2 separate regions of the Homo sapiens genome follow, and region 1 is linked to region 2. The links are contacts of gene promoters, found by promoter capture Hi-C in human tissues and cell types (Jung and others, 2019). All regions are on one chromosome and are shown on one strand. Each heading gives the region's core, a stretch centred on a gene start or on the middle of the fragment in contact. The rest is flanking DNA. Distances are from core to core; before and after follow the strand shown.

Region 1 (5,378 bases), core at 910-3,409, 210 kb after region 2:
GCAAAAAACAAAACAAATTTATACCTTAGGAAACTCCTTAAAGAATGTGTGTTCGGGTTCCCAAAGGTTAAGAAGAAAATTATTTTGGGTTTTAGCCTTTTTTTTTTCTGGAAATCTTTCTAAAATGTTTTACTCTGAACTGCAGCCTAAGCAAGTTCCAGTGCAGTAGGGATAATTGCATCTTTTTCAGTGATTGAGGATCTTGACTCGCCATCAAGGTCGTCACTCTGGACACTTTATAATGTTTTGTCCTAAAATATTTACACTCAGTATTTTGGTACTTCATGTGTGTGTATGCATGCATGTGCGTGTGTGTGTGTGTGTGTTTGTGTGTTTGAAAAGAGAGAGAGAAAAAAAAGAAAGAAAGAAAATACTAGGCTGAATCTACAAATCCATAATTGACCCCAGAACACACTCTGGGAATTCCTTAAAGCAATCACCAAATCTACAGGATTGCTTTGCTTTGTTGACACATTGACTTTGTTTCTTTAGGGATTCTCATGAATCCAGATTTTATCATACTAGAGAAGCAGCATGGCGGAGTAGATGGAAAACACACATGCTTTCAGGACAGACAATCTAGGCCCGAAGTCTGATCATGCCATTTTCCACCACTGGGACCCTAGACAAGTTACCTCATCTTTCTGAGTCTAATTTTCCTCATCTTTAAATTGTAGAAGATGAAATGTACCTGTGTTATTGGGTTGAAGATAACATATGTAGACCATTCTACACAAAGAATTGCTTAATTTCTGATAGCTATTAATACTATTTTTGGCTTTATTGATAAGTAAAAAAATAAAAAACCTGGACAAGACAGCTAACTGTCTTTTCTGCAAGTTGCCTAAGAGAGTATGAATTTCAGCTGGTCCAATTTGGGATAGCAGTGGTCATCTAGACGTTAAAGCCAGGCAAGATGTGGTTTTGGAATTCTGAAACAAAGCCTGCTCATGTTTCATTCAACAAAGTCTTTGTCAAAAATCATGCTTGAAGGAGAACTCTGAAAAAAGCGGGTGGTTGGAAAGATGGAAACTACTGGCTAGTGACTGAGGTAGCTAGGTGGTACAAGGGCTGAAACCATATGAGGTGGGAATAAAAGAAGGACTGACTTTATCTGCTTAATGGCTTCTAGCAAGCTGTCTAGAAGGAGGGAAAAATAAACCAAACTCATGGCAACCAGTGCAGCCCATTCAATTCCAATCAAACTTCCATGTCTTCCAGGTTTCTATCCTGCATCCATGCCTGGGCAGCCGCACAGTGCTGAAGCCAGCTCCCTTCTGGTGGCACATCTGGCCTAACAGCTGGGTGGCCAAGGAATATGATTAGTGGGAGGCTAGCAAAACATGGGGGGCAATCCTCAGCTGCCTCATTTGCTTGTTTACCATCATCTGGAACAGCTGGGTTTGCACAGCACGAGGCAGCCCTTGGAAACTTCTTTAAATGCTGTCACCTTCCAGCACTCCAGCTGCCTTCATGGGGAGAAAGGGAGATGGACCAGGCTGGGAGCCTGGCAGGCCCACAGGGGGCCATTTGTTTGGGAAGTTACAGAATTAGTGTTAGCAAACAGTGCATATCCTGCCTGGTGATGATCTTCAACTAAGAAAGAGGAGGAAGGAGAGGTGAGTTTTCAGAGGCACACCTGCAGCAGCTGTGGGCTACTAAGACAAGGTGCTTGGCAGCAAAGAGAAAGTGCAAACCAGGCAGTAGGGAGGGAGGGGAGATGTTTAACACTGTGTTTCATTGAGTTTAGAAAGTTTTGCTTTAGTTTGGTGTTGGTTTTGGAGGAGTGTGTTAACTTGTTGGCGATATGTATACAGCATAGTCATTAAAAGCCCCAGCATTGGAGTCAGATCTGGACAGACCCCCAGTTCTGCCCGACTCCTGCTGCTTGACCTTGTGCAAGTTATTTACCTGCTTCCAGCCTATTAGAAAGGATTAGCTCTAATGCAAATGTACAGAATCTGTTGCACAAGCAGAAGGTGCAGGATGGGGAAAAAAAGTCATTGACTTTGAAACAGAGCCCAGTGCAGTGAGAAGAGTTTGTGAATTAACTGGCAATGTTAATGGTGTCCTTACCTCTAAATAGGGATAATATAGGGTATTGTGAGATAAAATACCTAAAGTACTTAAGCATAGTGCCAAGCTCCTCATAAGTGTTCAGTAAACGGTGACTACTGTGTAAACGGTTAAGTGTGGTGTGTGCTAATGATGAAGCAGCTAAGTTACGGACTCCACAGCCAACCTACAAAGGGTTCAAGCATGGTTCTGCCAGGAGCAGCTGTGTGACTTTAAGAAAGTGAAACTCTCTGTGCCTCAGTTGCCTCATATGCAAAATGGGGATGATCATACTGCTTACCTCCTGGGGGTGTTGTGAGGATCACATGAGTTAGTGAGCACCTTAGACCACGGCCTGGCATATAATAGGTGATGGGTAAGTGCTGTAATTGCTCACCAAGTCCTTTTGTCTTCTCCTGGGAAAAGACATCCCTTCTTAGATATTCTCTTTGCTATAATTCTTGGGGAGTATATTACTGAGGACAAGGTAGTGCTGAAAAGCTAAATATTTTGCATTAAAAGCATCCAGCCAAATCCAAGTGCAGCACCTGTGGGTGACCATATAGTAGGTACCCTTGTGTCTTAGGTGTCTTCCAAAGAGCATCCCTGACACAGGGAGGTGATGACACAGCTACTCCCACTATGAGAGCAACCCCCCTCTAAGCTTACAGGGAATGTTCACTTCCTCCTTCAGGCTGGAAGCCCTGGCTCAGTCCATTCCCCCCAACACTGCTATTTGGTACCATTGTTGACAAAGGGCTTTAGACACTTAAAAAACTCATAGTACCACCAAGGCCAAAGAGCAGCACTTCCTTCCTGTAGCCCAGTGGAATCTTTGCAAATGCATTTTCATTCTGGCCCATCACTTCCACTCTCCTGCCAGCCAGAGGCCCATTTGGGAGGCCAGTACACCTCGGCTGTGTCTTGCTACAGTGCTCTCTTCCAGCCTTTTTGGAGGAAGTGTCTTTAATGCAAATGTGTGTGATCAGTGTCTAGAGAGAAGAAGAAAGACGTCAAAAAAGGTCACTTGTTTTTAAAAGAAGTCTGCTGTGGTAGGAAATTCATGGATTACTTGCGAATGTTAATAGTTTCAAGGCTGAGTGCTACAAATTGGTGTCAGTGGTTACACTCAGTTCCCAGAGAACTCAGTTCCCCGATTCACCCACGTATGTGGATGTTTTCTGATTGTGCCAGTGCCCATCTGGACTCAGTCCCATGAAGGACAGCTCTGGCTGCTATGACCGCCACATCGGGGTGGACTGTTCCGACGGCTTCAACGGCGGCTGTGAGCAGCTGTGCCTCCAGCAGATGGCGCCCTTCCCGGACGACCCCACCTTGTATAACATCCTCATGTTCTGTGGGTGAGTTGAGCTGCCAGCGAGGCCACCTGGCGTCCATCTGTCCCAGGACGCAGGACTTTCAATGCTAAATCCAGGAAATGTGAGTGAATAGGTCACCCTAGGCCATCCCTTAGTCTCTGAGGAAAGAGCCTCTAGGACTTGGGGGGGAACATTTTTAAAGTCGAGGGGGAACATTTTAAAGTTGTGTGGGACCTAAGTCTAGTCCAGCCCCTATAGATGGGGAAACTGAGTCTGGGGAATTTACCTGCAAGGGGAAGTTAACTACATGGTTTACTTAAATCATTCTCCAATTAAACCAGCATTTTCCAAGTTGTGTTTTGAAAGGCTATGTTAATTAAGTGTTTTGTGACAAAAGGTTTTTATTGTTTAAAACTCGGGAAAGAGTGTGCAAAACTAGTCAATTCTCAAAAAAGGGGGGTGGTCTTTGGACAAATGGAAACTTTTCTAAATTCTGCCCCCAAAGTCCCAGCACTGTGTGCAGCCACTCCTCCTGAGGCACAGTGATTCCTCCGTGTGAAGAGCCCTTTCTTGCAGGCAGGCTCTCCCACCCACCTCAGTTCATCTCTTCTCAGGATCACTCTGTGAGGGAGCAGGGCAAGCAATGCAAACCCATTTTACAGATGGAAAAACTAATGCACAGTGAGGTTAAGTGACTCCCTCAAAGCTGGGAAGATGGTGAGTGAGAAGATTACGACTGGATTCAGGCCCTCCCTGATTTTTCAAAAGTTCTGTGGTTCTCTGGAAATTTAAATTTATACTGCTGACTGGAATTATATTTAAAGACATTTTATGCTATATTTATAAAGTAAACAAAGATTCAGCTATTCTTCTACAGCCATAGTTAGCTTGTCTATCCTTCCCCCACTCTCCATTCTCCCCCCTCTCCCTCCCCTCCCCTCTCTCTTCCGACCTGCTAAGGACAGAACTTACTTTATGCCACAAACTGTGCCGACCACTGAGCTGCAAAGATAAATAACATATAGTTCTTGCCCTCAAGGATCTCACAGTCTGATAGGCTTGCAATGATAATCAATGTTTATAGTCATAAAACTAGGCTGGATTGTTGCCCAAAGCCAGTGCCTGCTGAATAATCATGTAATGTTATTTTATTGTGTTTCATTTTATTTCTTTGTAATTGAACCATTTTCACATTCAGTTTCTTGTAAACTCTCATACCATAAATGGAAGCTTGCTCTATATCTTAATATTCTCTGTAATGTTATCATTAGGGTTGACCCATTTCAATTAATAGAGGTCAATTCAGCCAAAGTTATATAAATGTATTTATTTAATAAACATATATTTGAGCACCTACTTTGCACAGAGAACCCTGGGTGTCAGGTGTTGGAAAAAGAACAGGATACCCGACCTGATCTTTCCCCTCAAAGGAGTTTACAGTGGGACACATGGTCAGGAGAATGAGGAAGATGAGGCAGTGTGAAAGGGGAAGCTGTCCAGATGTTCAAGGTGGACTGAGAGGGAACCAGCCAGCTTCAGAATTCTTCCTAGAAACACTGTGCTATTGCTCAAGGAAGGAACCACTTCACTATCTTGTCCCAGACCTAAGCTGGTGTCATGGAATCCTCTGGGAATCTTGAGTCACATCTATTTCCTGGACTAATGTAGTAGGACCTGGACTGGATTTCTTTCCTGTTTCAATAAGAATCAGACACACGTGTGTTTAGCACTATCTAAGGTACTATATATAGCGTGCCGAAGAAGTCCTTGATTTGAGATTCTTATATAAAGACCAAATCACATACATTTATAATTAAAGAGCTCTAATCACACCTGTTCACACAAATATATAAATGGTAAATGGAAAAAGCAGTTAAAGGTGCATGAACATGGGCCTCATTTGCACCTCTACTTCTACAAATAGTAATATTTAATGAACACTAGCTATGTGTTAGGCACTGCATAAGCTCATTACATGCAGTCTCTCAATCTTCTCAACAACCC
Region 2 (5,108 bases), core at 1,051-3,550:
GACTTATTGGAAAATCAACCCTAAATGGTTTACTTGGGCTTTCTAACATGACTCAAGAATCTTCAGAAAATTAGAAAGAAAGATTTCAAAGTGACAGTAGATTATATGCTACTCAAAAGCAGGAGTAGTATTTTTCTGGCTGTGCTTAGCCTAATGCTTATGATACAGTAGGTACACAAACATTTGCTGAATTAATTACTGTGGTCCATAAAGCCCAGTGATTATCCATGGGTGCACCCTAGTGTACCATAACCATATAGTGGAAAGAGCAGTGGGCAAAGAAATCTTGTTCATGGTCTTAGCTCCATAGAAGATAGATCACTCTTTAATGGGTCTCAATTTCCTTATCTGTTAAGTGAGAGATTGGATGAATACATGATCAGGTACTTACATGCCATTTCTCACATTCTAGTATCAAGGGTGTGTTCCTGACATCCACTATAATTATTCAATGGCAAATAACCTTGCATAAGTAAGTTTAATACTAGATTTTTGTTTATGCTAGGGATAACAGAATGAAAGAGATATCATGGGGTTTTTGTCTCACTCAGTATCTCTTAGGGGAGCAATGACGATCAGGATGAGTTTTCAAAAGTCGTTAGCTGGTACATCTTTTTTACAGTAGTTTACAGTAGTTTGCAATGCTGCATGGTAAGATAACTTGGGGTTAATTCCCAGATAAGTTACATATAAAAACTCAACTAATAAAGTGTCTTTGTTCTTCTTTTCTTTGCATATGTGGTAAATGATCTTTCACTACTTAAACATTACCTTAAATATGGCTTATTTTCTCTATTCAATTAGATAAACTTTGTAAAATATATGGCAAAAGCTTTTTTGTCTTTTAAAGAACATATTTTCACATATGCCAATAAACTGACACCAGGTAGAATGAAAATGTAATTGTTTCTTAAGTAGGGGTCCTCTTTTAGAACAGTAGTGCATTAAATTTCTAGAGTGAGAACTACAAATAACACAGTCTTCACAGCACCTAGTATTGAAGTTAGCATTGACCCAATAACAATGGAGGGACACACTTTTGAAATAAGTTATTGGTTATCATGTGAGAGAAAGTTCAGTTAAATGTCAGATTTCAGAATACACAATGTCACTTTTCTACCACTGTTTATTGCATATTGTCATCATTTTTAAAAGGCAACATTGTTGAGCACTACTGGGAACAGATCTTACATGGGTTTTGGTGGTGGTGGTGGTGGTGTTATTCTTCAGAATACTTACGCAGGGTGCTGAACATCTTCCCTGTTGTACTCTTGACTGGATTGGGATTGACTTAGCTCATACCCAAGGATATTCTTTTATTACTTTTCCATCTGTTAAGAATGCTTAGGAACTTTGGTTTTTCTCACAATTTCTTTCCAGCTTTGTCCTATTTACTAGATTGTCTAAAATTAAAGTTTCAAGATTTATTTGAGCTAACCCTACTTTTTTTCTATCAGCTATAATATTCCCCAAATCATCTTTTTATTGGTTACTACAGATAAAATTTGTGATAGAAATGAAATGAAGCAGAGAGAAGTTGCGAGTAAAAGTTTCGATCTCCTGCTTAACTGTGCACCTTACTCTGTTGTGCATATCTATCCATCCATCTAAACCAGTATAACAAATATTTTCTTTAAATATTTTGCAAAGTTAGTGCTAAGTAAAAATATGCACATGTGCATTCCCAGCTCCCGTTTATCCTATGTACAAATCCAACTAGTGGGGGACGGGGCGGGGTGGAAGCAAGATTCGGACAAGCTATAATACATCCACAAAACCACTGGGGGAATTTTCATCTCCCCTCACCGCGCAGCTTTGCAGAAGCGCCCTTTAAGGTGTATGTCTGTGTGTGCCTCTCTCAAGCCTTCTGGATGATGATGCGAGAGGGAAGATTTTACATTGCAAAGATCAATGTATTAAAAATGCCGTGCAGGTAGTTCATAGCCAAGAGCCTTGCTCGTGTTGGAGGATGCAACGGAGGAGAGAGGCAGGAGCACCGGCAGCCAGCTGGGGGCTGACCTGATTCCCTAGAATCCTCAGCTCCCTTCCTCTTTCCTTTCGACGTCCTTCCTTCCCTTTTTCTCCTCTCCCCCCTCCCCCGCTTTCCCTTCTCCAGATAAGCAGCTCCGGGAAACAAAGAATCCGGGGCTCTCCAGACATCAGAGCTTAAACCCAGGACTCTGCAAGCGGCATCTCATTCCGGGGTCCAGGGCTCTCCCGGCTCTCCATCCCCTCCCTAACCTCCCCCGCCTCCCGCGCTCGCTCCCTCGCTCCCTCCCCGCTCGCTTCCTCCCCCACCATCGCAGCGCTAGGAGGAAGGCGGCCGGGGCTCAAGATGGCTTTAGCCGGGCTCTGCGCCCTGCTCGCCTGCTGCTGGGGGCCGGCGGCGGTGCTGGCCACGGCCGCCGGCGACGTGGATCCATCCAAGGAGCTGGAGTGCAAGCTCAAAAGCATCACGGTGTCGGCACTGCCCTTCCTGCGCGAGAACGACCTGAGCATCATGCACAGCCCCTCGGCCTCGGAGCCCAAGCTCCTCTTCTCGGTGCGCAACGACTTCCCGGGAGAAATGGTCGTGGTGGACGACCTGGAGAACACGGAGCTGCCCTACTTCGTGCTGGGTGAGTCCCGGGGGAGGTCGAGGCGGCCGGAGGCGCTGGACCGGCGCCCCCACCCCCCACTCCAGCTCGCTCTACACACCCACTCGCCGACGACCTCCCCTCCCCCACTCCTACCTCCCGGATCCGCCCCACTCCCGGACCATTCTCCACACCCACTTGCATACTAGCGCCTCTGTGCACCTGACTTCTCCCCAAATCCGACCTGGATGCTGAGCCTCCTCTCAGCTGCCCTGCCTCAAAGAAACAGGTTGCATGAGTCTCTCTGAAACCTCTCCCAGCCTTGACCTCCCAGCTTTGATTCAGGAGCACATCCACACAGCACTTTTTGTCTGCTACCAGTTCAACTCCCATAATCCCTTCTCCCCACTCCCTAGCCACATGCTCAGCTCTTTGCTTCACTCACTCTGGATACCCACACCCACCTACAGCACTTCCTGGGGGCTTTAGAAACAGGTATCCTGTCATCACCTTGCCAGCTATGTGCAAGCCAGATTCTAGTCTTCATTCATGGAGAGCCCTTTATCTGTCACCAGGCTACTGACACCCTCCCTTCCAAACACTCAAGTTTCTTATCCCCCAGCTGTTCATTCTGGGAAGTCCTACCTCCATGCTTAGATGTCACAACCCCCTAATTCAACCACATCCACACATCCATGTCACGTCACAGTTGGTTAAAGATATTATACAACTGTAGTCTGTTAGTATTGGTCTCTTCTTTGTTCCCAGGGCCACCTTAGATAGGCGTAGGCATTCCTGCACACAGAATGACCTTTCTAGGCAAGGGGCTCTTCCTTCCTTTGTTTGTTTACATCTCTCTCTTTTTGGTACTCCCACTGTAATTTTCTTAGGTCACCTTCAGGTAGTGGAACTCCTGTCACTTCAGGTACTGGAACCCATACATTACTTCAAATCATCCCTGTTTTCCACTACTAAGCTGCAAAGGTTTTGTGGTCCTGCTCTAGTATCTTGCAAAGCACCACAAGTTCATGTTACTTTGCCAAATTCCCCTCACTTCTCCATGTGTAGATGGAGCTCTCACCTTGCTGTGCATGCCTACCATGCAATCCATTTCTTTAGTGATGTTGCCAATTATTCTTATTTTGCCCAGGAGAAATTCAAAGAAAACCACACTTCAGTCTCTAGATCCAAGTAGAGAAAAAAAGAAAATGTCTAGGAGGCTGTTCCATTTACTTGATACCCTACCAACTACAGTTCCATTTGCAGAAACATGGTTTCCTGATGGCCACATGTAGGCTAGAGCCACATGTGGAATTCTAACACATCCCTCTTGCTCTTCCTTCATAGGAGATGTCTTCACACTGAAAACACTAGGAAGTGAGTGAATAAACCCCTACTCCCCAACCCTTAGGGAAAAGCAATTTCAAAAATTGCCTGGCCCTTTGAAAAGTTGCTTTATAGTTCCCGGAGTGCAGCTCAGTTGAACCCATTAAACCCAACCTATGCTCTTGATAGGATTATTTATTTTTGCTTTCAAAAATACCAATAACATAATAAAAACTGGGGACTAGCTGGAAATGGGAGCATTGTGGATATGCCGCTCATCAAAATGTACAATTACTGGGTTATTTGGAGGATGGAAAGTTCACGTTGAAGTCATGCTGATATGCAAAGTACAATCTGTTCATCATAGTATATAAAAGTGAGTAGAGGGAATTATGTGTTTCTAAAGAGGCTGTTTTGCACTCTGCTTGTAGTGTTTACTGTGCATGAAGAGGTACAAGCATGGTGCTTAAAAAAAGGGAGGGCTAGCAGGTATTCAACATTTCATTTCTTTTTTGCAGAATCCCAAAACCAGGGCCTAATGCTGTGATGTGCCTACTAGGAACCAATGTGCACAGTGAAAGCCCAGATGTTATAAGAACGGGTTTTCTGCACCTCTGTGCAAAGCTGCCCACTGCAGTGTCCTGTTGGGGTTGCTATGGTAATCTGGTGCAACTTGGCATTTACACACAGGCACACAGACACACTCTCTCACTTCAGGGCCAGATGCACTATTTAAATGCATCGATTATCTCCCACTCTCCCAGTCAGTGGGGTATGCTCAGAACCAGAGAAGGGCTGGTACTTATTCTTTCTGACTCAGTATGCTCAAAGGAAGAAGGAATGAATTTCAGTTTGGGTGGGTGGTTAAACAGATCTGGGCAGAAAGGAAGAGGAGTCCAAATTTATGGAGGATAGACTCAAAGGTAGTTTTGAATTTAACTTTTGTGGTCTTGATCATGCAGCTCTTGGCCAATGGTGAGGGCTGTAGTGACTTTGGTTTTGAGATTTCCCTACTCCTATCTTTGGAACCTTGTTTACTTAATCCATCTCCTGGAGGAATCTGAATCAGTCAATTCTGGAAATTTATTGAGTTGTACCTGCTCAGCACTCAGAGGCATTACTAGGAAACAGAAGTTAAAAAAAAGTCTCTTGCCCTCAAGTGGTCTCTAGTCACTGGAAACACAAAGATACCTGTAAGAGCTGTAC

The links. Contacts are between HindIII fragments. The study calls those that stand out against the background at their distance.
Region 1: a contact is called between a fragment that was not itself captured here and the fragment with the promoter of ASTN1 in region 2, in 2 of the 25 tissues and cell types used here (H1 embryonic stem cells and heart left ventricle).

What each region holds. Positions count from the first base shown.
Region 1 is chr1:176,947,223-176,952,600 of GRCh38, reverse strand. ASTN1 (astrotactin 1) reads left to right here. Exons shown (of 23, transcript NM_004319.3): 12 at 3,250-3,416. Among named protein-coding and RNA genes, the nearest start is that of MIR488, 80 kb to the left of the region's middle. The HindIII fragment of the contact is 8,935 bases long and covers 1-5,378 here.
Region 2 is chr1:177,161,904-177,167,011 of GRCh38, reverse strand. It overlaps ASTN1 (astrotactin 1), which reads left to right and starts at 2,300. Exons shown (of 23, transcript NM_004319.3): 1 at 2,300-2,618. The coding sequence starts at 2,336. The HindIII fragment of the contact is 7,081 bases long and covers 221-5,108 here.